2 separate regions of the Homo sapiens genome follow, and region 1 is linked to region 2. The links are contacts of gene promoters, found by promoter capture Hi-C in human tissues and cell types (Jung and others, 2019). All regions are on one chromosome and are shown on one strand. The core of a region is centred on a gene start or on the middle of the fragment in contact, and the rest is flanking DNA. Distances in the headings are between cores, read along the strand shown. Region 1 overlaps GPR176 (G protein-coupled receptor 176). Region 2 holds the start of RASGRP1 (RAS guanyl releasing protein 1).

What was found. The method cuts DNA at HindIII sites, captures the fragments that hold promoters and counts their contacts. A contact is called where the count stands out against the background at its distance.
Region 1: a fragment that was not itself captured here is called in contact with the fragment with the promoter of RASGRP1 in region 2 in 1 of the 25 tissues and cell types used here (pancreas).

What each region holds. Positions count from the first base shown.
Region 1 is chr15:39,803,820-39,811,075 of GRCh38, reverse strand. It overlaps GPR176 (G protein-coupled receptor 176), which reads left to right. Exons shown (of 3, transcript NM_007223.3): 2 at 3,818-4,070. Among named protein-coding and RNA genes, the nearest start is that of FSIP1, 25 kb to the right of the region's middle. The HindIII fragment of the contact is 5,029 bases long and covers 3,081-7,256 here.
Region 2 is chr15:38,563,366-38,570,541 of GRCh38, reverse strand. RASGRP1 (RAS guanyl releasing protein 1) reads left to right here and starts at 5,728. Exons shown (of 17, transcript NM_005739.4): 1 at 5,728-5,948. The coding sequence starts at 5,914. RefSeq lists enhancers at 5,122-5,311, 5,153-5,664 and silencers at 5,522-5,571, 5,732-5,971, 6,002-6,221, 6,232-6,431. The HindIII fragment of the contact is 10,595 bases long and covers 2,099-7,176 here.

The DNA.
Region 1 (7,256 bases), core at 4,346-6,845, 1.2 Mb before region 2:
TGCATAGTTAGGTTAAAAGTCATTCCTGTTGTTACCTGGCATATTAGTTAAAAGCCTTTCCTAATATGCCCTTCACACAATTCTTTAAACCCAAGAGACTCTTCTTGGTTACATTTTGGACTGCAAACTGAAGCAAATAAGGCATTTAAAAATCCAGCAACACAAAGTAGTGGTTGGCTGGTTGTTTCTTCTATTATGGGGTTACTGTTACTTGTTTAAACTTTCCTCTTGCATCACAAGGTGTATACTAAGTGTAAAAGTTCCTTTGTAGGCTTTCTGACCCTTGTCGATCCACTTTGGCCTCCCTCTTGGCACAGTCTGTCATAGGCTTTTCCTTGTAATTTTATATCACCTCCACTTTGCATTAGCTTTTCTCAAGTTCTAGTTTTTAGAATGTTCTGGGTGGCATGTTATCTTTCTGTACAAGCATGGCCATGGATATTTTACTGCTTTAAGTCTCTGGGGAAGCTGGTAGTTTTCAAAGAGGTAATGTGTCTGTTTTCCCAGAAGGATTCTCAGATGCACACGATTTCCCAATGCTCTTTTGGAATATCTTTTTCATTTTAGTTACTAGTCTCTTTAACAGGCCAGAATTGTTGCTCTCAAAGATGCAAAGCCAATAAACCGGTTTAAAAGGACAACCAAAGCTAAAATTTTGCAGAGGCAAAATTTAGTTGGAAAAAGGTTCTTCATTATCAATCAAGCACTGTCTGTCAGAGTTGTGGTTAATTCACATGGCTTTGTCTTCCACATCCACTATCTTTGACTATTAAGTATATTACAGAACGAGAAGTCTTAATTTGTATTTTTTTTAACTTTTATTTAAGTTCAGGGCCACATGTGCAGGATGTGCAGGTCTGTTCCATAGGTAAACATGTGCCATGGGGGTTTGTTGTACAGATTATTTCATCACTCAGGTCTTTTTTTTTTTTTTTTGAGACGGAGTCTCACTCTGTCACCCAGGCTGGAGTGGCACGATCTCAGCTCACTGCAAGCTCCGCCTCCTGGGTTCACGCCGTTCTCCTGCCTCAGCCTCCCGAGCAGCTGGTACTATAGGCGCCCGCAACCACGCTGGGCTAATTTTTTGTATATTTAGTAGAGACGGGGTTTCACCATGTTAGCCAGGATGGTCTCGATCTCCTGACCTCGTGATCCGCCCGCCTCAGCCTCCCAAAGTGCTGGGATTACAGGCATGAGCCACCGCGCCCGGCCATCACTCAGGTCTTAAGCCTAGTATCCGTTAGTTATTTTTCTTGAGGAATGACATAGTTACAGCAGTCCCAGGGAGGGCAGACTTGTACCAATGTCACCACTCTCTACCTCTTATTTCCTTTTTGGTTGTATGGGCTGTATGTCCTAATTGTGTTGCTGTGTCCACAGCAATGGCGTTGAGTATTGTCATGGAATTAAACATTAGAAAGTATAATGGGAATACATAGGGAATTGGAATGGTTCCAGAGCTTAGATCATTTCTAGGGTAGATTAGGTGACTTAGAATGTGACCTCTAAAATAAAAAGTATATAGAGGTTGAAAATTTTGTTACTTAAATATATAATGAGTTATCCTTACTTGGTATGCCTTGTAAAACGAAGGAGAATCTGAAGTGCTAATGAGGTTAAATAATCATATAGTTATCTTGCTTTGTTGCTGTGTGGGCATGCACATGTACATGCACACGCACACACACACACACACATTTATTTTTAAATGTGTAACCAAATGGGTATTGGGTATGGGTGCTTGTATCCTGACATGTTCATCCAATTCAGGTTCTTAGAACCAAATGAGTCAGTTTTAAATGAGGAGAGAGCGAGAGCAGAGGTTTAGAGAATGGAAAGAACATAGGACTATTTAGCCTCAGGTTCTTAATAGCAGAAGAGATTAGGCTCTGCATGCTGTCTAGAGGCATATAAATAGATGGAAATAAAATGTGATTATAGCAGTCTCGGGTTTTAAAGAAATAACAGCATGAAAACAACTTTCCTCATTCATGAGCATGTAAATGCTAATAAAACCCCTCAGCAGGCTGCCCTTCACACCTGAGGACTGGTTCCCTGTGAGAGTCTGAGCATGGGGCTGTGGACTCTGTCTAAAAGTGGTTTAAAAGAAACTGTAGTCTGGGGGCCAACTGTACCAACGTGCCTGTTACAGTTGCAGGTTCCCAGTTTCATACTTATGCACTGTGATTCAGTATATCTGGTACAGTCATTCCGACGTATGGTGAGATTTGGGAACTGCTTGCTGACTTAGAATATCTTTACATGACATACATACTACAAAAGGGGTTCTCTTACCACAGGGACTTTTGATTACCGTGTGTCTGCTTATTTTACAAATTCATTTCTTCAACAAATATTTATCAAATGCCTACTCTGTGCCAGATACTGAGCTAGGCATGGAGTTACAACAGTGAACAAGATTGATACAGTTTTTCTTCATGAAATGGAGAGATAACAAGTCAACAAATGAATAATTGTGATGAGAACTATGAAGGATGCAATGGGATATGATAATGGAGCATAATGGAGGCAGGAGCAGTTAGTGTTTAAAATAAAATAATGGTTAGAGAAGGCTTTTTTGACAAGGCAGCATTTAAACTAAGACTGGGATTTAAAGTAATCAGACATATGAACAACATCCCAAGCAGTATAAGAAAATGTATACAAAGGCACTGAGGCAGGATTAGCCCTGATGTGTTTCAGGAATGGCACAAAGACTAGAGTGGCTGGAGCCCAGCAAGCCAGGGGAAGGAAGGTATGAGATTAGGCAGCAGGCATCGGAGTAGGTAAACCCTTGAGGAACATGGTGGGGATTGAGAGGGGTATCAGAAGTTTATCTGGAAAAAGGATTCTGGAGTTGAGGGGAAAACCCTACTTTAGGACATGAATTTGGGAGTCATCAGCATTTTGATGGAAAATTACCAGAATGGGTAGTCTAACGTAGGGAGAGGCTATTGAGAGAGGATAGAGGGGGCGGAGCTGTACCATGCTCTTCTGTAAAACCTGGTAAGAGTAGACTTGCAGCAGCCAAGGACTGGCGGAAGCGGGAGGGTGGAAGGAAAACCAGGAGATTGTAGGCCTGTGGAAGCCACAGAGGACAATGCTCAAAGAGAGATGATTGGTTGCATCATTGCTGCTGAAGTCTAGAACAGTGCTGTCCAGTGTGGTGGCCACTAGCTGCATGTGGCTATTGAAAGGTGACTAGTGCAAACTGAGATGTGCTGTAAGTGTAAAATAAAATGCACATTGCATTTTGAAGACTTAGTACAAAAACAACAATGAAAAATATTAATAATTTTAAAGTAATCATTACATGTTGAAATATTTGGGATCTGTTGGGTTGAATAAAAAATATTATTAAAATCTCACCTGCTTCTCTTTACTTTTTTAAAACATGGCTACCATAAATTTAAGATGACATGTGCGGTTTGCACTGTATTTCTGTTGCAGAGTTTGGCAACATGGAGGTCACTAGAAAACTTGATAAGAGCAGACTGCCTGGGATTAAGTAATAACTAGCAAATTGTTTATACACTGATGAGACTAAGCCATCGTTATAATACTATTTTGCCCAAAATTAAATAGAGAAACTCACCACTAAAATTTTTTCTAGACTTATTGATATGTGATTTAATAATTTCACATAAATTGACTGTAATGTATCATATATGTTAAATTTTAATATTAGGATTTACATTAAATCTTTTGAAATCAACTCTCAAATGTGTTTTTTACATTTTTTAACCTGTACTTTTTTCCTTTTTTTAGTTCTTAAATTTTTATTTAAATTATTTTATTTTCTTTCATATCTGACCAGGAAACTTCATGGTGTTATGGTCAACTTGCCGCACAACCGTGTTCAAATCTGTCACCAACAGGTTCATTAAAAACCTGGCCTGCTCGGGGATTTGTGCCAGCCTGGTCTGTGTGCCCTTCGACATCATCCTCAGCACCAGTCCTCACTGTTGCTGGTGGATCTACACCATGCTCTTCTGCAAGGTCGTCAAATTTTTGCACAAAGTATTCTGCTCTGTGACCATCCTCAGCTTCCCTGCTATTGCTTTGGACAGGTAAGATCAGGTAGCCAGGAGCTAACTTTTTTTTTTAAGTTGTATTAAAAAATTAGCATCATGAAGCAAATGATGAGTAGTCAATGTTCCGTATACTGCTTTTTAGTCAGCTTGTGATCAACAGAAAGGGAATAAATGTGCAAAACAGATGCCTCACAAAGGACAGGTGGATTTAGCAACAGCCATGGAAAATAAAACCATTGAGAGAAGACCTGGGGATGGGAGTTCCATGGTGAGGATGCTGGGGCAGAGCTGCTAGATCATGGTGTCAGTTCAGCTTGGTTGCAGTTGGTGGTATTTGTGTTGCAATTTGCAGTAGATTTTTCATCTGATTGATAACTCTGCAATTAGGGCTTTTTGATGCAGTATGGAACATCTCTGAAAGAACAAGGGAATGATTCAGTGGTTATTTAACAAGCGATTAGATGGTCCACTTGGATCTGGCTAGGTAACACCAGAATTCCTCTGGAGGATTTATTTCCAAGGCTTCATATTGCAGTGGTGATTGCTTTCTCTTCCTATCCTCTTTAAAAAGATGTTCATTTGGAAGTGAACCTTACATCTTAGTTACTGCCATTCTACATAATTTTATCAATTTTATCAAAGTTGCATAAAGATCTCATAATCAGCAAATTCCTGCCTTTCTCCTTTCTAGCTAGTGCTTCATGAATACAGTTTAGATAATATTTTCTAGAGAATTGAATTAAGTAAGCAAACAAGAATTGAAAAGTATTTTATGTCCATGAGTACTTTTGATTTCAAGATTAACATAGAGGAAACGTTGCTGAAGGGAAAGTGCAGGCTATTCTGATTTTATGCCCTATGTTAAAATTTAACTACATTTTAGATTAATTTGAAAATTTAGAACTCTTTGTCCATTCAAAACATAATACCTTAATGACCTGTGAGGGTATTGATTGTAGAACCCATCTATAGAGTCATTTCAGCCTCTCAGGCCAGGGACCCTGATTTCTTCAGCTGCCTGGTGCTGTCTGCATGGAGGGACACAGAGTCACACGAAGCCCCCAGCATACTGGGAGAAGTCATTGCCATTGTGGTTAAGAGAATGGATGTTGGAATAGAAGCCTGGCTTTGAGTCCTGCCTACATAGCTTTCTAGCTGAGTGGCTTTGGGTAAAGCTGCTTAAACTTTCTGAGCCTCAGATTCCAGAGCAGTAGAAATAATTAAGTGAATTATTTATGGCCTGTGTTAGGATGGGCTGCACCAATATTTGCCTCTCTTTCTCAGGCTTCCCTTCTGATGGCACATTCTTCCTTAGATATATTTCTGCAATCATGTTACCATCAGATCTTGCTGGGAGCAGCTCCAGCTCCTTAGAAGGGACTGGAATCTCACCATCCATGGAGCCAAACAAGGCAGGTGACAAGTCAAGCAATAACCAGGTTGCAATTGTGGCACGTGGAGAGTGTGTCCACATTCTCGTTCATGGGGATCAGCCGCTCAGCAGTTGCAGCTAATAATTGCTTTGTAGGAATCTAGACTCGGTGGGCAGGACTTTTTTATTCTTTCAGAAGAGGAATAAAAAAATTTAGAATTCCATAATTTAAAAATGTTGGCAATTATTTTTTTTTTTCAAAAAGTATTATGTGGGTCATGTGAATCCCTTCAGCAAGATGAATGTGTGCCCTGAGATGCCAATTTGCCACGCCTGCTTTATGGTGACGTTGCATGTCTCTTCCATTGCTTTTTGAATATCTGGAAAGTGCCATTGCACAGGACTGGAATATAAGAGTGAAGTCAGAGTCCTTTCTCAAGAGTACTTCCGGTGGGTACACTAATGCATTTTATGTCGAACCATTTTGTGTTCAGTGTCCTTCTGAATGCCCCTGGTAGTACCTGCTGTGGTAAAGTCTTAAGTCTTCAGTTTGATATTCTGGACTGAGATATAATTTACATATTATAAAATTCACCTATTGGAAGTATACAAGTCAATGAATTTTAATATATTTATAGAATTGTACAGCCATCATCACAATATAATTTTAAAACATTTCTATTACCTCACAAAGAAACTTGTGCCCATTTACTTACAGTCACTCCTTGTGCCCATCCCCAGACCATAAACAACTATGAATCTACTCTCTTTTTCTATATGTTTGCTTTATTGGACATTACATGTAGGTGGAATCATACAGTGTGTGTTCTTTTGTGTCTGGCTTCTTTCACTCAGCATGTTTTCAAAGTTCATGTTATAGAATGTATCAGTACTTCATTCATTTTTCATGGCCAAATAATATATTCATTTAATTTTAGGAGTATACTAAATTTGTTTCTCCATTTACTAGTTGGTGGATATTTAGGTTGTTTCTACTTTTTGGATATTGTGAGTAATGCTGCTATGAATCCTGAAAGTTTTTTTTTTTTTTTAAATAAGACTCAACAAGGAGAATACATTATTCTGAACAGTTTGCTGTTATACCTGGAAGCAATGCAATAATCCCTGTGGGTTACTTCTGGGGCCTTGGTCTTAAACAAAGAAATACGAAAACAGTAAGAAATTCTCATTTTCTTTCCAGCAGAAAAGCTATTGTAAATTTATCATAATTTTAAAAAGTAAAACAAGTCCTTTTAGTAGGAAAACAGGGCTGGTGAATTCCTATTTTGTTATTCACAGATGCAAATTACTTACAAGCATCCACATGTACACCTGAAGAAGAGAAGACAGTCTTTTCTCTCACTTCCTTCATAGCTATTCATTTCATGGTACTAAGTCAGCAAGTTCATCGGGAGGTCATCTACACTTCTTGCATCACTGTTTAGAGGTGTACACACTAAGAACATTATTTATAGTGAGCCTGTGTGCTTATGTTGCAATCTGTTTCCCAACATGTAACGGGATTGGAAATTAATGGAAGCCTGGGTTTGTTACATGTCAGTGAGCAAATGGCAGTCAGAGCCAGTGAACTCCTAAGCATCTATTCATGTGTACAGGTGGGGCCATCACATATTTACTGAGTTGTCATTACAAAACTATCTACATTCAGAGAAAAAAAAATGTGAAAGCATGCATCACTTATGCACTTCTTTCTCTTTTTCCCTCCTCCCAGAAAGAAATCTAGAACATATCTTACCATGCTCCCTCCTTCCCTGATTGTCCATGGTCGCTATTGTGTTTGCATCCCATCTCTTTCAGCCTGGAATGTTCCCCTTCAGCTGGTCCCCCTG
Region 2 (7,176 bases), core at 4,479-6,978:
AAGATTAACAAAATAGATAGCCCACTAGCCAGACTAATAAAGAAGAAAAAGAGAAGAATCAAACAGACACAATAAAAATGATAAAGGGGATATCACCACTGATACCACAGAAATACAAACTACCATCAGAGAATACTATAAATACTTCTATGCAAACAAACTAGAAGAAATGGATAAATTCCTGGACACATACACCCTCCCAAGACTAAACCAGGAAGAAGTCAAATCCCTGAATAGACCAATAACAAGTTCTGAAATTGAGGCAGTAATTAATAAGCTACCAATCAAAACAAAAGCCCAGGACCAGTTGGATTCACAGCCAAATTCTACCAGAGGTACAAAGAGGAGCTGGTACCATTCCTTCTGAAACTATTTCAAACAATAGAAAAAGAGGGAATCCTCCCTATCTCATTTTATAAGGCCAGTGTCATCCTGATACCAAAGCCTGGCAGAGACACAACAAAAAAAGAAAATTTCAGGCCAATATCCCTGATGAACATCGATATGAAAATCCTCAATAAAATACTGGCAAACTGAATCCAGCAGCACATCAAAAAGCTTATCCACCATGATCAAGTCAGCTTCATCCTAGGGATGCAAGGCTGGTTCAACATATGCAAGTCAATAAATGTAATCCATCACATAAACAGAACCAATGACAAAAACCACACGATTATCTCAACAGATGCAGAAAAGGCCTTCAATAAAATTGAACACCCCTTCATGCTAAAAACTCTCAATAAACTAGGTATTGATGGAATGTATCTCAAAATAATAAGAGCAATTTATGACAAACCCACAGCCAATATCATACTGAATGGGCAAAAGCTGGAAGCATTCCCTTTGAAAATCAGCACAAGACAAGGAGGCCCTCTCTCACCACTCCTATTCAACATAGTATTGGAAGCTCTGGCCAGGGCAATCATGCAAGAGAAAGAAATAAAGCGTATTCAAATAGGAAGAGAGGAAGTTGAATTGTCTCTGTTTGCAGATGACATAATTGTATATTTAGAAAACCCCATCATCTCAGTCCAAAATCTCCTTAAGCTAATAAGCAACTTCAGCAAAGTCTCAGCATACAAAATCAATGTTCTAAAATCACAAGCATTCCTATACACAAATAATAGACAGAGAGCCAAATCATGAGTAAACTCCCATTCACAATTGCTACTAAGAGAATAAAATACCTAGGAATACAACTTACAAGGGATATGAAGGACCTCTTCAAGGAGAACTACAAACCACTGCTCAAGGAAATAAGACAGGACACAAACAAATGGAAAAACATTCCATGCTCATGGATAGGAAGAATCAATATTGTGAAAATGGCCATACTGCCCAAAGTAATTTATAGATTCAATGCTATCCCCATCAAGCTAACATTGACTTTCTTCACAGAATTAGAAAAACCTGCTATAAATTTCATATGGAAGCAAAAAAGAGCCTTTATAGCCAAGACAATCCTAAGCCAAAAGAACAAAGCTGGAGGCATCACACTACCTGACTTCAAACTATACTACAAGGCTACAGTAAAAAAAAAACAGCATGGTACCAGTACCAAAACAGAGATATAGACCAATGGAACAGAACAGAGCCCTCAGAAATAATGCTACACATCTACAACCATCTGATCTTTGAGAAACCTGAGAAAAACAAACAATGGGGAAAGGACTCCCTATTTAATAAATGGTGTTGGGAAAACTGGCTAGCCATATGAAGAAAACTGAAACTGGACCCCTTTCTTATACCTTGTACAAAAATCAACTCGAGATGGATTAAAGGCTTAAACATAAGACCTAAAATCATAAACACCCTAGAGGAAAACCTAGGCAATAGCATTCAGGACATAGACATGGGCAAAGACTTCATGACTAAAACACCAAAAGCAATGGCAACAAAAGCCAAAATTGACAAATGGGATCTAACTAAACTAAAGAGCTTCTGCACAGCAAAAGAAAATATCATCAGAGTGAACAGGCAACCTACAGAATGGGAGAAAATGTTTGCAATCTACCCATCTGACAAAGGGCTAATATCCAGAATCTACAAAGAACTTAAACAAATTTACAAGAAAAAACAAACAACCCCATCAAAAAGTGGGCGAAGGATATGAACAGACACTTCTCAAAAGACATTTATGTGGCCAACAAACATATGAAAAAAAGCTCATCATCACTAGTCATTAGAGAAATGCAAATCAAAACTACAATGAGATACCATCTCATGCCAGTTAGAATGGCAATCATTAAAAAGTCAGGAAACAACAGATGCTGGAGAGAATGTGGAGAAATGGGAACACTTTTACACTGTTGGTGGGAGGGTAAATTAGTTCAACCATTGTGGAAGACAGTGTGGCAACTCCTCAAGGATCTAGAACCAGAAATACCATTTGGCGCAGCAATCCCATTACTGGGTATATACCCAACGGATTATAAATCATTCTACTATAAAGACACATGCACATGTATGTTTACTGCAGCACTGTTCACAATAGTAAAGACTTGGAACCAACCCGAATGCCCATCAATGATAGACTGGATAAAGAAAACGTGGCACATATACACCACGGAATACTATGCAGCCATAAAAAAGGATGAGTTCATGTCCTTTGCAGGGATATGGATGAAGCTGGAAACCATCATTCTCAGCCAACTAACACAGGAATGGAAAACCAAACACCGCATGTTCTCACTCATAAGTGGGAGTTGAACGATGAGAACACATGGATACAGGGAGGGGAACATCACACACTGGGGCCTGTCTGGGGGTGGGAGCTAGGGGAGGGATAGCATTAGGAGAAATACCTAATGTAGATGACGGGTTGATGGGTGCAGCAAACCACCGTGGCACTTGTATACCTATATTACAAACCTGCACGTTCTGCACATGTATCCCAGAACTTAAAGTATAATGATTTTTTTAAAAGCACGAATATTATCCTCATTAGCTACCTTATAAGAATGTTATATTAAATGATGTATTTTGTGAAAAAAAAAAAAAGTTTGTTCTTGAGGTCAGAGGTGCCTCATATAACACCAGGCAGACTAATCACATGGCCGATGATTAAAAGAGACATAGACAAACTTCTCATTTTTTAGATGTTTGGAAAAGACTTATTGCTCAGGTAGGAGTAGCCAGAAAACCTCAAAAAAGAGCTCGAGGGGGCCCAGAAGCAGAATCAGATGCAAGTGAAGTGCAGAGTACTCAGAAAGTCCAAGAGAAAAACACTCGCTGGGCATATGTAGGCCTCTTTCTTTAGAAAACTCAGCAAGACTCATGTATTGAATGAATTAATAACCTTGGTTTCAACCATTTGTATATATGTGGACTGTAGGTGTGCAGATGTGTGTAACTGCCTACATGTGCACTTAGTATTATGCATATATGTATATTTACATATAAATATAATGATGCATTTACATAAAGGCATCCATTTGGCATACATACCTATGCATATGCAGTATAAGGCTGGATTATTCCCCTGCCACACACAAAGATTTTGCTGTCCAAAGACTCAGTGCAATGAATGGCATGGAAGGGGCTCTATTTTCAAGGGTGAAGCAATAGAGAAATACCGAAGGCCTCGGATAACCTGTGATGGGGATCCCACGAAAGCCACCGGGGACAGTGCCAGTAAGCTTATCACTCCTGCCATAGACAGCGGACTTCAAAGAAAAACTGAAACCCTTTCTCCGGAAATAATCAGGAAGGATCTTATTTTCTTCTTTGAGGTCAGCACATTTTGCTTTTCAAAATCAAATCCACAGCAGTTCATTAGTAATGTCCCACAGGTACTGCCTCAAGTTGGCAGCTGTGGAAGCTAAAGAAGCATAAGACCTGATTCTTGACCTCGGACAATTTACAGTTTAGCTGTGGAGGTAAGACAGGGACACAGAATATTATGTGGCAATTGAAAGTGTAAATATTATAGATTTAAGTAGGGTAAAGAGCTCATTCTGTAGTAGAGGGGTCAGTGAAAAGTAATTGTTCACCTGGTAATAAGAGAAGATCTCTGTGAACAAAGTCTAAGACTGCAAACTTAGGACTGTTGGGAGATAGTCAGATAGATTCATATATAGATACAAATCTTTACCATCCTCAGACATCCGCCAACTTGGTTGTTTAGGTTGTAGGGCTTACATGAGGAAGGGTGTATAATAGATAACTCTAAAAATGTTTGAGCCTTAGACCCAGTGAGTGAGAAAGAGTGTCATCATTTAATATTCTCCTGACATTCACCTGCCCCTTCTGCATCTGTGGCTGTGACTGAGGACTTGGTTCTTTATATCACCCAGTGTTCATGAGGATTCTCTGGAGAAATTTCTTGCTGGTCTCAGTATCAAGAAAGGGGGATCTTCTCTTGAGCAATTTTGTTTTTGGTCTTGCATGTGATAGGAATTGAACTTTAGACAAGGCCTCTCTTTAAACTTGACTGCTAGAAATGCAGGAGACAAATTTTGGTCCCACCTGTAGCAAGGGTATTTGACTCTATGAGATGCATTTATTTCAAATGATGTTCATTTTTGGCTCCATCTTGTGTGCCTCATTTTTCATTTCACACACTTCTTTTTGTAGGTTATGTGCTCTTGTAAGCTATCTCGAATTCTGTTTTAAGGACAAGGTAGCATATAAATATAAGGAAATATATAAATGAAACAGAGGAAGGCTTTAAAGTCCAGAACACTATGGCCAGGAAGACAACTATGACTGTGGCTAGAGTTATGGTCTGTGGCCGTGATAATGAGTGTGTTATTAGGGCAGTCCAGCAGTGATTACAGGGAGTCAGACAGACCTCAGTCCAAGTCAGAGGTCTCTCTGCTGTTTATTAGTTGTATGATCTAAGGCATAGCATTCTCTAAACCTTCATTTTCTCATCTTTACAACAGTGATCTCTTTGTATCAGGGAGAGTGGATTAAATGAGGTAATGTATAGAAAGCACTTAGCACAACCGCACTCAATCATTAGCTATTGAGATTATCAGCACTATCACCTGGACAAGCAGCGGATGGGCCGCCCCTCTTGGCCAGGTCTTCTGTGCGCACTGACGTTGTATGAAAGTTGTCCCCACATCTCCTACACCCACCGACGCCAGGCGGCCGCGTCTGGGCCAGATATGGATCACGCCTGTGGAGCGCACCTCCACACAGGCAGCCCTCGTCCAAGGTGCAGGGCGCAGGGCACAGGGCACATGTCTACGGCCCAGTCCTGCAGACGGCTACCTAGAGACCCCAGGGCACAGGTTAAGGCAACTTCACAACTGTCTTTCCGTTCCTTTCCCCTGCCGGACTCCGCGCTCTGATATATACAGGAGAGGCCCTGGAGGGGAGAAGGCGTCCTCACTGCAGTGCTCCGAGCAGCGGCCGCAGGAAGAGGCGTGGAAGCTGCGGGTCGGCTGCGGGAAAGGGGGTCCCATGGGAGCCGCTAGGCGCAGCCCGTTTCCCGAGCTGAGGTGGAGGTCGACGGGCACAGGTGCCCTGCAAGGCGCGGGCGTGGTAGCCGGGAGCCCGCTCCTCTCCAACTCCCCTGAGACTTAACCCTTTGGCCAAGAGAGGTCGAAGGCGGGCAGGGGTGAGAGAACCGCGCGAGGCGCAGGCCGGGGCACCCGCGGAAAGGGGGCAGGTTTCGGGGAAGAGCGGCGGGGCGCCGCACGTTTCCTGCAGCCGCCAGCATCAGCGTGTCAGGTGGTTGCCAGGCGGGTGTGAGCGCGCGCGCGAGGCAGAGGGGGCGCGCTCGCACAAAGTTTGTGCCTGCGGTGCACCTCGGTCGGGCTCGCCGGGCTCGAGGGCTGGCGGGCGCCGGGGCTACGAGGCCCGGGGGGGAGAGAGCCGGCAGGCGGCGGCGGTGGTGGCGGGGGCGATGCGCCGCGCCCGGCCGCGCTAGGTGAGCCGGCACCGGGAGCGCGGGCCGCGGCCATGGGCACCCTGGGCAAGGCGAGAGAGGCTCCGCGGTGAGTAGAGGCGGCCGTGGCCCTCGGGAGCGCCTGTGTCCTTTCTTGGGAAAGAGGCCCCTGCCCGTCGCCCCAACACCCCGAGGGAAGTTGAGGGCGGAGGGGGGCCGGGGTCGGCCGGAGTCCCGGGACACCAGCGCGACGGGCGGACGTGTCCAGAACGCCCGGCGCGCTGCGCCCGGGGTTTCGGGGAGGGAGCTGGGGCTGAGGGGTGGTAGAGGGGCGGCCGCGAGGCCAGAGCTCGTCCGGTGAGATCTGCTAGGGCCGAAGCTCTTCGCGGAGCCGGCGCCCGCCCGCCGACTTCCTCCCCCACATCTCCACGCCCGGCATCGGGACTCCCACTCGCGGACTTTCCGCGCTGCCCGCACCTGCTGGGGCGCTGGGCTCCGGCTGCGCCACCTGGTGGCCCCTCCCGGCCCTGCCCAGAACGGCCGAGGAGCTTGCAGGGAGCCCGCAGAGGTGGCACCCCTCGGTTGCCCCTGCCCCACGGAAGTTTCCAGATCCGTGGGTCAGGGAAACATATCGCCTTCCGTATGGGAAGCTGCACTCCTCTCCCCCTCACTATGATTCTATAGAGGGTCTTGGATAACAGAAGTTGAAGAAAGAGGGACAGTGAGTGAAAGGGCTCTTGGCCAGGCAGCTTTGAGTTTGTAGCCAAAGGACCAGAACTAGGCAACTGCATGAACAAAGGCCTGGCCTCGGCGTAGGGGCTGGACAAGTTGTGCACTTCACAACTCCATTCACATCGACACTGATGGGACTGTGCCTTGCACCACCATACCCAGTAGCGGCAGGAAGCTTGCGATGCTGGACTTCCCGTGCTTATAATCCCAGGAACGAAGGATTCTTGGCCCTGTATGCACGCCCTGCCTCTCCCCATCCAGGTATCCCCTGAGGGTCCACCACTGTACTTTGCACTAGATTCAGAAGGAGGAGTTCAGTACATTAAATTGAGTATTGTAAGGGGAAGAGGACGGGACTGGAAGGAATCCATACTAGAAGTCAAGAGAGTCACCTTCCACTGCAAAGAAAGTTGTGGAAGTTCCAGTTCCCTTGCTCCATTTCATCTCTTACTTTTCTAGGCGGATTTCATAAAAAGCTCAGCCTGAAACTGACCTCCACTGAGATACCTATGCCTGGAGAGGATTTCACCTAAACCAGTTTAGAGTTTTGACGGTCTCCTTCAGCAAACCTATGGGGCTTTGGTTACTTTTAGGCTTGGAAAACA